Linked DNA regions of Homo sapiens: region 2 is linked to region 1. Evidence: promoter capture Hi-C in 16 types of primary human blood cells and fetal thymus (Javierre and others, 2016). All regions are on one chromosome and are shown on one strand. The core of a region is centred on a gene start or on the middle of the fragment in contact, and the rest is flanking DNA. Distances in the headings are between cores, read along the strand shown.

What was found. Contacts are between HindIII fragments. The CHiCAGO score rates a contact against its expected background, and 5 or more counts as called.
Region 2: a fragment that was not itself captured here is called in contact with the fragment with the promoter of ZNF496 in region 1 in 1 of 17 cell types (fetal thymus); the score reaches 6.2 in fetal thymus.

The regions. Positions count from the first base shown.
Region 1 is chr1:247,330,067-247,336,115 of GRCh38, forward strand. It overlaps ZNF496 (zinc finger protein 496), which reads right to left and starts at 1,801. Exons shown (of 10, transcript NM_032752.3): 1 at 1,724-1,801; 2 at 1,366-1,581; 3 at 1-15. It overlaps ZNF496-DT (ZNF496 divergent transcript), which reads left to right and starts at 1,988. Exons shown (of 3, transcript NR_168399.1): 1 at 1,988-3,180. It overlaps LOC124904574 (a long non-coding RNA gene), which reads right to left. Exons shown (of 2, transcript XR_007067004.1): 2 at 5,809-6,049. RefSeq lists silencers at 839-1,078, 1,649-1,758, 1,889-2,368, 3,481-3,775 and enhancers at 1,681-1,975, 5,747-6,049. The HindIII fragment of the contact is 9,597 bases long and covers 1-6,049 here.
Region 2 is chr1:244,442,147-244,448,195 of GRCh38, forward strand. The region is part of intron 1 of ADSS2 (adenylosuccinate synthase 2); the gene reads right to left. Among named protein-coding and RNA genes, the nearest start is that of ADSS2, 6.7 kb to the right of the region's middle. The HindIII fragment of the contact is 1,046 bases long and covers 2,418-3,463 here.

The sequences.
Region 1 (6,049 bases), core at 551-3,050:
CCTTTACAAATGGAGCTGGAATGACAAAGACATGCATCGGATGAGCCTTCAAGCACATCCAGGAATGGAAAATCCACCCTTCTGGTGGCAGAGGGCTGATGGTGCTGCGTGCTGGATGGACAACCCAGCCAGAATCAGCTTTGCCCAGCAGAGTCTGCAATGGGAGGCAAGGGAAAACATCACATGAGACAGCTACATGCAGTCTACCAGGGACAAATAACACTGCATCTAGAAGTATCAGTGGTTTCCTATGAGCCTTCTGCCAATTCTGCCCTGACCTTCAACCTCGCCTCCACCCTATTCTCTATCCTTGCCCTCTTCAAACCACATTGAAGGCAACTGCACACTCGCCAAAGCCCTTCCTCGGCCAGGACAGAAAAGTGGGTCCGTCACTGCACAGCTCAGCCCTCAAAGAACCCCTGGACACTGCAGCTGCCACACCCCCAAGGTGGGACTCAGGGGTCCCTACACCTCCCCGCTGGTGTGCAGACAACTAGCCGACACTTTTGCCACAACTAGGGTGGCAAGAGACCAGCAACCAGTATACCTGGTGTTTATGATTCCCACTTTAGAACGCTGGGCCCGTGAAAGGGCACATGGGGACACTCACAGTCCCCTTCTCTGCCATCAGGCCTCTGTGATCCTTAGGACCGGCAGTGCCTGCCACTCCCCCATCTGCACGAGGTTGTCCAGCGTGGCCGCGTCTTAACCTCCAACAGCTCACAAGGTGGGAAGGGGGACTCGGGCCTCACTCCCATTTCACAGAAAGACAAGTGATGCCAGAAAAGCTACGGAACAACTGAGTGGTTCCAGAAACACCCACTGCTCTGAATCTCTTTGCTTTCCAAAGTAACAACATACACAGAAACCCATATGGGGGCCGTGGCGGCGTCGGGCTGGACGCATTACAGCGCTCCCCACCACCGGATCGCTTCCAGGGCGGCTCCGGCATCTGGAGCCCGGGGTGGGCCCCGCCCGCCCTGCTCGGCGGCCCCCTGCGGCGCCCATCACACACCTGCAGCGCCCAGGACTACTCAGGCCCGCCCCCCCGAGCACCGGCGCCCACCCGGGCTGCCACTCGGATCGTCTCCAACCAGACGGCCGCGTCCGTCTTTGTCACGGCGGCACCTGGCGCGTCGGAGGCTCGGAGGAGATGCCTGATGAATGAACTAACGTGAGTGAGGCGGAGGAGGGCCCCGCAGGGGCGGAGCGAGCTCCCAGCCTTTCGCGGAGGAGGGACCGAGCTGGATCGGCAGAAAGGGAAGGAGAAGGTCGCTGTGGGCCAGGGAAGGGGGAGCCCGCCCTCCGCGCCCTCGGTCTCCCTCACACGCGCGTCTCCCGTCTCGCCGGCTCCGGGCTCCTCACCTCACAGCCTGGAGCTCCCTCCCGGCGTCCGGCCGAAAACCCTCCTGTGGCGGCGGAAGTCCAGGGCAGCCGTCCTCATCCTCCCAGCCCGCCCGGCCGGGCGTACTCGCTGAGGCGGGGTCTCCGCAGGCGCCCGGCTCCTTTCCCGGCCCGTCCAGACCGCGTCTCCCGATCATCCGGAAAGCCACGGCTCGGCTCGGGGGCAAATGGAGGCGCCTGAAAAACAATGGTGTTGCTTTCTCCCCCGCCCGCACCTTCCTGAGCGCTGGGCTCTGGGCTGGGAGGCGGCGCCGCGGAGGCCGGGCGCGGGCCGAGGAGGGCGGGGCGGGGCCGGCCGCGGGAGCCGGGGTGCACTCACCGCCGCGGCGCGTCCCTGTTGGCGGGCGGCGCAGGCCTGGCCGCCGCGGGAGCCCGCCGGACGCCGAGGAAAGGAAAGGCCGGAGCCCTCCGGCTCCCTCCCCTGGGACACTTCCTGCTCCGCTCTAGGACTGGGGAGGTCTCCGCATCTCAGTGGTTCGCTCCCCCGCCCCCCGGCCGAGGTGTGCGCTGGGGGTGACATCCGACACCCCCGGCCCGCCCCGCTCCGCGCGCGCCTGGGCCTGGCCGCCGGGCCGGGGGCTTTGTGGGTCAGCCACGTCGCCGCGCCCGGGCTTCCCCGCGGGCCCGCCGGTCCGGAAGGTCGGCCCGGGGCTCTTTTCTCCGCTGTTCTCCTTCTCTGGCGCCCCCAGGACACGCGGCCAGTGGACGCCCGGAACGGCCGACCGGGAGTCGCGGCTGGGGATGGAAGCTGGAATTGGGGGTGCGGGATGGAGCGGAGAGAGGAGGCCCCGCGCGCCGTCGGCCGCCTCATTTCAGACTCCCCTGCGACCCCCCCCCCGCCGCCAGCCGAAGCCCGGGCCGCCCAGCCCCTCCTGCCGCTGCGGGACGCCGAAGGTAGCGCTCACATCCGCGCCTTCCGGGCCTGGCGCCCACGTGCGGAGTCCCCGGGTTAGGAAAGGCCGCGCATCCGGAGGCCACGCAGAGCCTCGGGGCTTGCGCAGAGGGGCTGCGGTGAGTCCTGACCCTGAGTGGGGGTCACGGGGCTCGTTGCTCGCTGAAGTGAACACGGTTGCAGCTGTGCACAGTGGCGGAGGGAGAGGATGAGGGACTCTGACCCAAGGTTATGTGGCAGTGAGGGGCAAGCAGAAATGGGGGCCTCCGGACCCCACCCCGAGACAGGGCTGCTGGCCGCTGCACTATGCTGAATATAGCCCAAATTCTTACATGGGTCGTCCCCGGGGAATGCTCATTTTTCAGGCTCCAGAGCTTGAGAGAAAGTGCGAACCCGGTCCCTGAGCAGGTCTGATTCCCATGGCCCCTTCGCCATCTGCTCTGCACCGAAATTGGATTCTCCTACGCAGAGGAGAAGGTGGAGAAGATTCTCCGTCTTCCGGAGGGTAGCTACTGCCGGTAGCTCCGATTTCCTTCGGATCCCCTTTCAAGGGCAAGCAGAAGGAAATCAGTTTCTCCAAAGAAAGTGGCCCGGCTGAGTAAGTGGGAACAAGGTGGTTGGACTGAGGCACGGGATCCTTTAGCTCCGTTGCTCTTCTAATCCCGTGGCCCTGGGCACCGCCACTTCCTCCTCTGAACTGCTGGAATAATCACTTCTGACTAGCAGAGTTACTGGGAGCCGCTGTTTGTCAGTGTTCACATTCTGACTTTAGCAGGAGATGGAGCGAGCGAAGGAGTGAAGCCCTTGTTTGTGAACAGTGATTGTTTCCCGGATGACAGCCAGATGCCGGGCAGGGCCACGCAGATCTTAGCTGGAGCCTACAGGTACAAGTGAGAGCCACCCCCTTTGACGTAACTGGACTGGCATTTACAGAACTCATGTACAGCCCACTCTCAGGAACACCAGCCAGGAACCGTGACATGGAGGAGAGGAATTGGGAGGAACCGAGGGGTCATCAAAGGCTGGTAGGGCTTAGGTGCTCTAGCAAACATCCTAGTCTGTGGGGTTCCAGAGCTCTGGTGCTACAGCTCCCAACCCTTTGATTGGCCCAGGAACTGGCTGTTGAGTGGGCATCCGTGTTCATAGCTCTGCCCCTTGCAACCCTAAAGCAGATAAAATGCAGGAGGCAGAAATTGCTGGCAGACAGCATCCAATTAATCCCCACTACCCAATTCAGTTTCTTCCCCTGACCTGACACGTCCCTGCCCAGCTGTGCCTCCCACTGTTCACCTTTTGAGGCACAAAACGGGCTGTTTATGCTGCTGCTGCATTTAGCTCAAAACAGGGCTTCAGAGTCAAGGTTCTGGACTCAGGCACCCGGATTAAATCCTGCCCTATGAATTCCTAGCCAGGTGACCTCAGGCCTACATAACCTTTCTGTACCTCAACTTCCTCATCCAGAAAACAGGGATGATGCTGTCTACCTCATTGGATGGTTGTGCAGGATCAAAGATTCAGTCATTCAGCAAACCTATACCGAGTACCTACTGTACACTCATGAGTGCTAGGCAGCCAGCCTTCCAGGTGCTCAGGTACATCTGTGAACACAACTGGCTATTGGAGGAAGCAAAATCAGTAACATGACCTGCTCTCTTTGATCTGTGCTACAGAAAAAAAGGAAAGTGGAGAGGCATCAGGAAGTCAGGAGTGCTGGGGAGGGGCTGGTAACAGTCATGGTATTAAAGAGGAGGGCAGGCAGGCCTTACTGTGAAGGTGGTATTTGAGATGAAGTAGTTGGTCAGAGTCCCTGTTTGACACATGGAGACCACCTTGACAGCAAAGGCCCTAAGGGGGAGCGGTGCGAAGCAAGGTGGGCTGGTGAGTGAGAGGAGAGGGATGGCATAGAGCTGGGTGGGGGCACAGGAGCCCGTGGGGAAGGTGTTCGCCTCTGAATGAAGTGGGGTTGTATCAGATACCACGGGTGAAGCATCGGGAAGAGGATCCTGCCTGTAAACCCTGCTCAAGGACTGCACCATCATCATGCCCAGTGTGTGCGTGTATTAGGTTTGTATGAATATAATGTTGCCAATTGTATCTGTTTTTATGAAATGTTTGCTATGTGCCAATGATTATTCGATCCATGGGGAGACCATAGAAGAATGATCCAAGGAGTTGGGAGGGGAATCAAATAATAAATCAGCGATTCTGCAATATAACGCCATTGGTGATCGGTGTCATGAAAGAAATACAACATGGTGGGGAAGAGTGTGCTGGGGATGTTCAGGTAGGGCCTCTGTCAGGAGGTGACATTTGAGTGGAGAGCAGGTGGGGGGCTCCTGAGCAGAGGTGTGTGGGAAGAGTATTCCAGCAGAGGAAACAGCGTGTGCTTGCTCAGCTGGGCAGAGGAATAGTGAGAGAATGGTGAGGCTGGAACCAGGTCACCAGATGTTATAGTCATTAGAGGGTTTCAAGTAGGAGTGTGGCCTAACGGAATCTTGATTTTATCAAGATCACTGTGCAGAACAGATGAAGCAGAGTCTCTGTTAGGAATCGTTGTAGAGATCCCGGCAGGAGATGCTCGGTTCCTGGAGTTGACTGGTGGAGGCACAGCTGGTGAACAGTAGGCCCAATCCAGGCTCTGTGTTGAAGGCATGCTGCCTGTGTTAGAGGAGTGAGGAACGGCTGTGACTGGGGCTGAAACTGGGTGACTGAACAGGCCTTCTAGAGATGGCAGATGCAAGGAAGCAGGTTTCCAGGAAGGGGTTGGGTTTGGGGTTGAATTGGTGGATTTGGGACTTGCTGGTTTTCAGATGCCCAGGAGACAAGTGGGGATGACCCTCTGGGATAGAAAGCTGTGGCTGGAGGTGGAAATCTGGAGTCACCGTATGTAGCAGGAGCTGGGGCTTGAGAGGGTTGAGTGTGTTTTGAGAAGCAGCCCCAGGGAGGGCAGACCCTGCGAAATGCCAGCCCTGGACCGTGGGAGCCCAAGGGGTTAGTGGAGGAGAAGGGAGAGAAGGGGAAGTAGGAGGAGGAAAGTGAGGGAGGACGAGGGCAAGAGAAGGGGGTAGGGAGAGCTGCTGCCGCCTTGAGATAAAAGGAAAATTGCAGGTGTGGAGCCCTGGAATCCAAGTGAGCACCTGTGTTTCAAGGAGAGAAAGAGGTCAGGGGGATAAATCCTGCGCCAAGATCAAATCCGATGAGGAAAGAACACTGCCCATTGAATCTGGTAGAGAGGCCCCTGAGCAAAGCAGACAGTGGAGCTCCTGGGCTAGGGCACTTTCTGGAAGAGAAGGGAGATGAGAGTGGACACAGCCCTGTGGAGAAAAACGGTCTCATCTTAAAGATGGGAGAAATTGCAGTGCATCGCCTGGAGGAGGGAGGGCTGGCACCCAGGGCCCACGGGGAGCCGGAGGGCAGGGAAGGCTGCCTCTGGACCTGAGGCATGTCCACAGCATCTGGGCAGGGAGAGCCTGGGGCAGGCTTCTTCCAACTTTGCCAACACTCCAGTAAAATAAGGAGCAAGTGTGACGTTTTATTTTATGAGGCAACTTGGCTAGCTGTGGTACTCAGTTTTTGTTCAAACACCAGTCTGGTGTTTCTGTGAGGCTGTTTTTTAGATATGATTAATAGTTAAATCTGTAGACTTTGAATGCAGCGGGTTACCCTCCATAGCGTGGGCGGGCTTCATCCAATCTGTCGAAGGCCGTAAGAGCAAAGACTGCAGTCTCCTGAGGAAGGAACTCCCCCTGCGGC
Region 2 (6,049 bases), core at 1,691-4,190, 2.9 Mb before region 1:
TTATTGTGTAACAAAAGCTTACTCTCTTAGCTAATATTTTACCAAGACAGATAGTAATGATGGAATTAACCATAATAAAGAGATGATGGTTGCTCTACACACACACACACACACACACACACAAATTTTTTAGGCAGATGGTTGTGATGGATGACTTTAGGGGGAAAAATTGGCTTAACTCCCTAAGTTTGTCCAAGTTTATAGGCAGCTCAGGCTGGAAAGTTCAGCAGTAAAAGACAAAGTCACATGGTGGTATAAAGTTTGCTCATTCAAATATTAGTTATTGAAAAATAGCAACATTTTTCAATAACCAGTATTACATTGATTATTATATGGTTTAAATATCATTTAAGTTGTTTCCGTATGGAAACATTGTTAAATATACCCAGAAACACCCGAGATTATCCTACGTGGGATTTAGGGGGAAATATCTAAGTGCTTATTTATATTTGGTCACTAGTGCTCTGTGAGGCAGTTGGGGTATAACTTTTAATCTTGAAACGCACACTACACAGAAGGGTCTTCAGGAGAACTGAGAAAGAGCTGCTCATAAGGAGTTTCTTGATGAGGTAATCTATATAGGAAGCAAGTTTTAGTATACTGTATTTTATAAAATGCAACAGATAAAGAAATTTGAAGTGCCCATTTGGATGTTAACCTAAAATATTCAGATTATGTAAATAGGCAAAATTCACCTTGGGAGCTCAGGCAATTGTCCTCAAACAGAGATTATACTGGTTCAAGGAGAGGTCACATATTAGCAGACAGTAAAACAAAGCATTTCAAATATGAGCACCATAACCAAAAACAGTTTCAAATACGAGCACCCCCTCAGTCTCCCACCTATGTATTAGAAGGGCAGATGGAGCTGCTCCTACATGGGCCCATGGGCAACTCTGTGTAATATGTGCCAGGATGAGCAACAGCAAGGATGTGTTTGATTCATCATGTTTCATGATTCTCCCAAGCAGCACTGGGGAGGCCAGATAGTACCAAACAAATGATGGGAGATATTTTGTTGTTGTTGTTCTACTTCTAACGGAAACATACAATTTCCTTCTCAATCCAAATTTTCCACAAACCAAACTTGGTAAGTTATCTCCCACAAATGTATTAGTCTTATAATCACATTAACAGTTACACTAACTACCTCCTGCTTCTTTGCCAAACTCCCGTAACACTTATGATCCCAGTCACTCTTGTAGCATTTAACAAATACTTTTCATTATCATAGCTGTATATTCTATATTACTTAACAAAAAAATAGAATATGTTCAATTAATAGTTATATAAACAAAGGGCTGTGGAATCTCAACGTTGTTTCTGGATCAATTATATCCAACAGGGAAAACATTTAGTAATAAATCTCAGAGATAATTTTTTGAACTTTGTTTTTCCTAGAAATAAGTCATATTTCTGAGTTGGTAAAATGCTTTTCTGAACGTACATTTTTGGTATCTGGCACAGTCAACCAAATGTCTGTCCATTTTTGTGTAGCCTTTATACAGTACAGATTTCAGACATCATCCTTGCATCTGAATATTAAAAACATTTGACATTGTTTTTTTCAGTCCGCACAACACCCCTATGAAGTAGGTGGTACTGACTATTCCACAGATGGGGAGGCCTAGGCACGGAAAGGTTTAGTGGCTCCTCACAAGCCACGTGGCAGGGAGGCGGAGTGGCAGAGTGGCGGAGCGGCTCTCCAGCCACGTGCTGACACCGCCTTCTCATTCACACTTCCATCAGTGCCACAACACTGCATGGCAGGCTTTCAGGTTGAGGCCAATTTTTAAACCATTTTACTTCTGAAATATACCCTACCCCCCACCAACACCCCAAGAAACAAAAAACAGCATGAGTCCACAAGTAGCTACGTGGCAGGTTTCTTTGAGGAAAAGCATAAGCTTATAATGCCTTATATGATGTTCTTCTTATATTAAATACCAAGAATAAATGCAGGTTAATTTTATTAAAGTGAACAATATATGAAAGAAAATTCAATTGCAGTCACAAAACATCCCCTAATATAGTATATATTTTACCAATTTTCTTTGACTGTTATTCTTACATTAAGATGAAATACAGGCCGGGCGCGGTGGCTCACGCCTGTAATCCCAGCACTTTGGGAGGCCGAGGCGGGCGGATCACGAGGTCAGGAGATCGAGACCATCCCGGCTAAAACGGTGAAACCCCGTCTCTACTAAAAATACAAAAAATTAGCCGGGCGTAGTGGCGGGCGCCTGTAGTCCCAGCTACTTGGGAGGCTGAGGCAGGAGAATGGCGTGAACCCGGGAGGCGGAGCTTGCAGTGAGCCGAGATCCCGCCACTGCACTCCAGCCTGGGCGACAGAGCGAGACTCCATCTCAAAAAAAAAAAAAAAAAAAAAAGATGAAATACAAAGAAAATATTAAATAAGCTTCTTAATTACCAGGAAAAAATGTATCTCATCACAGAGCTATGAAATAAACTGGAACATCATGATAGAAACAAAAAGCAGGACTAAAATTCTATGTTCTCAAAGCTGAAAAGCAAAGTTTCTGATGTATGCTTTTAGTTTTTACCATCAATACATAGCTAATTTTCATTATTTTAATTAAGGTTAAAATAATAAAAACCAATTTAACTCTATTTTTTGTTCCAGAAAAGCACTACAGGTCAATAGCACATTAGAGTTTTGGAAAACAATTTATAAATGAGAACAATCCAGAACAAATGCTTCCTCATACCTTATTTTCCTATACAAAATTAACTCCAGGTTAGTTATAGCTTTTGTATGCTCAGTCCCCCTCCTTTTCCCCTACTTTGCAAATCATAGGAATCATCCCCCCAGCCACAGCAAACTGATCCAGGCAGGGAAACATGTTCCAACCTGAGCCAGTCAGCTCCTCTCCCTTGGGAATCTGAATTTGAGTACTGAGAAGGAAAGCAATAGCAGTCTGAGATGCCTGTCACCTACGGGAAGCATCCTAAAGAAAAAGGTTGCCAGTTCTAGCTGCTGAAATTCCAGGAGCAGGCTTCATCTCAGGCCACCATCCTGCTCTTCCTTTAAACAAATCCCCATTTTGCTTGAGATAGTTTCTTTCCATTGCTTGCAAACAAAGAACACAAATGATTCACAAAAAAAACTTACTACAACATAATATACACCTTGCTGAATTTACATCTTGTACTAGTGAAACTGAATATTAAAATGATTGCTAGATATTAATAACATTTTATGCTGTCAAGGACAATACTTTAAAGCATTACTGCAGGATAGAGGAATGATATAATAGTATTTAGTTATTCTGTAACTGTTCTCAGTTTTTCCATGCATTCCTTTTCTTCCTAATTTGATGTTTAGTTTAAGGAAGTCGGAAGACAAGTGTTTTGAATTTTCTTTCCATGACTCCTCAGAACCAGAGGCTGTCAAATCCAATTATAGAATAAAATTTTGGATCAGGAAATGCTAATATGTGTAAGCTTCTAGCTAAGAAGCTCCAAAGGTCCAGGGGAGGTTAAAAAAAAAAAAAGTTTGGAAAGGAATTAAATGATATTAGTTTACAAAAGTGACTCTTGATTCTTAACTTGGTTTCACTACTGGGCCTTCTCCTTCCCTAAATCACTCCTTTCTTCGCTCCCCCAAGTGCATTTCTGCTGTGGTAGAGAGATGAAGGCAGTGAATGATCCTCAGTGTTGTAAACCTGAAACAATGGTCTCTTTTCCAGAATACAGGCCCAAGTGTCAAGGGCTACCAATTTCATGCACAAAGCCCAGAGGCATTTTTCAGGCTAGTTAGGCCTCTGTGTCTTATCTTTGTCCTTTTGCTTTGAATATATGAACAACCTACTGTAATCACAGAGCTCAAAATGAACATCAGGAAGTCAGTGGCCACTATGGATTACAGGAGAGAGCAGCAGTGTCTCAGATCCCATGCCCCTGAACTATTTCAGCAACCAAAAAAGGGTTGCTATTTTTTTGTCTAATCTTCAAACTTCTTAAGAGCCTAAAAATCTTTGGAGTCAATGCTTATTATCTATGCTGCTTTCAGGGTAAAGATTGTAAGATCTGTGTCTCCTCCTTTCCAGATGAAACATGTTACCATTCACCAAAACTAAAGCACTTATCAATCCACAGCAATAAAGCAGTTATAAATGATGATTGTTCTTTCATGAAAGCATTCACATAACTGCAATTAGCTTATGATTCCAAAGTAGAGCAGGTTAAGTTACTACCAGCAAGTTGATCAAATTTAACTATGTAGCAGTAACCAGACACACTAGACAGCAAGAGAAAAAAATACACAGGGTATCTGAATTTCTTTCTAGCAAAGATATCCCAGCTCAGTTATCCATTAAAGGTTTAAAGGTATCCACTTTACTTTGCATGATTATAGTTACCTTCTAGTTTCATACACACATAAATGTCACAAATGATGAAAACCTCAGATACCTTATATTTTAGACCTAACATTACTATTATGAAATAACTTCTCACAATGAAAGTGGAAAGGGGCCTTGCCTGAGAGAATCTTAGGTTCCTAAGAAGCTTTAGACTCTGGGTACCAAACTCTAATATTCTTTCACACTCACCAAACCAGGGTCATAGATGAGGCCATAAGACATCCAACCAAAAATGTATAAACCAACGATGTCACACAGCTCTTTGTAAATGTTTGATAAAAATTCACCTAATTAAATTCATGAAAATATTTTCTTAAAAACACATTGAAATTAAACTACAGATTTCAAGTCAAAAAAGTTTTCTCAATAATAAAATTCTTCCTTTAAAAAAGATGTTAAAACTTAATATAGACAAAAATCTCATTTTTAGAAATCTCATGGAGCCTCTTTTCAAAAAAGAATTTTGTTATATGAATCAAATATAAATTTTGGTTCAATGTAAAGAACTATCCCATCCCAGAGCCAGATTAGCCACAGGAACTCCCCTTCATTTATTGTTCTTTTCATTGCTTTCAGCAGGCAATACTGAATGTTGATGTTTCTGTTGCTAAAAGTATTACAATAGTCACCAATTTTAATTTATCAATATGTAGCTCATCCACACTAATCTTTGGTGTCAACATCTGACACAGTCCCTGAGAGATAAGATAGCTGGATTCGTATCCAGTTACAGAAAGAAAGCTATTAAGTAAATATCAATTTATTGGTTCATTCTAGATTTGCTCTAGGCAACAGTTTTTCTTAGAGATACTTGTAAACATCCAACAAACCCATCCATTCCCACCAAAGTTAAAGAAACAGAATAATTTTGATCAGACACCACTGAGATGGTCTCATACACGTTTAAAAACTCATGCCTCAAAAGTAGAGCTGACAGGATACTATATTTACTAACTGCAATAGGACATCCTCATTGACCGAACATTGAGATTTACTGTCCTCAGCGGGGAATAACTAGTTACTAGAACCCCACATGGTATTCAGTCGAAATATGTTGAGGAGATACATGAAAAAGATATAAATATCAGTTACCTATTTTCTCCTAAAAACAAGAGATAAGATTTTAATATAAACAAAGACTTTGAATGGTACAATGTAAAAAATTCCAGCTGAAAAACTAAATAACAAATGTTAATCCAAGGAATGCTAGGAATTCCGCCTTAAATGTATGCCACCAGTCAATTAAATTGTCCAGAGAGATGTTAAAACAATTACAAGAAAGGGTTACTATTATTTATTTCAAATAAATTTCCAGGGGTGATCTTGCCACCCAGAATACATTGGTTGAGTATTTCCCTTCTGCTTCATATAGTATTAGGTGCTACAGAATAAGAAAAGGAAGAAGTCTCCCTTTTGAGAAAATTTACATTATAGTAGAGAAAGCACAGTAACCAAACAGAACAAGATTTAACCAAGTATAGTATAACAGACATTGGTAAATACTTATATACTAGGGAAATGCTATAAATGATATAAAAAGAATCAGAAAAATGGAAATAGCAATTGTTATAAACCTGGAAGAATGGCTTACCTTAAATGCTAATTACCTACTATCCTTAAAATTATGGGAAGTAGTCTGGCAGATCATTTTAGCTGTACAAGGT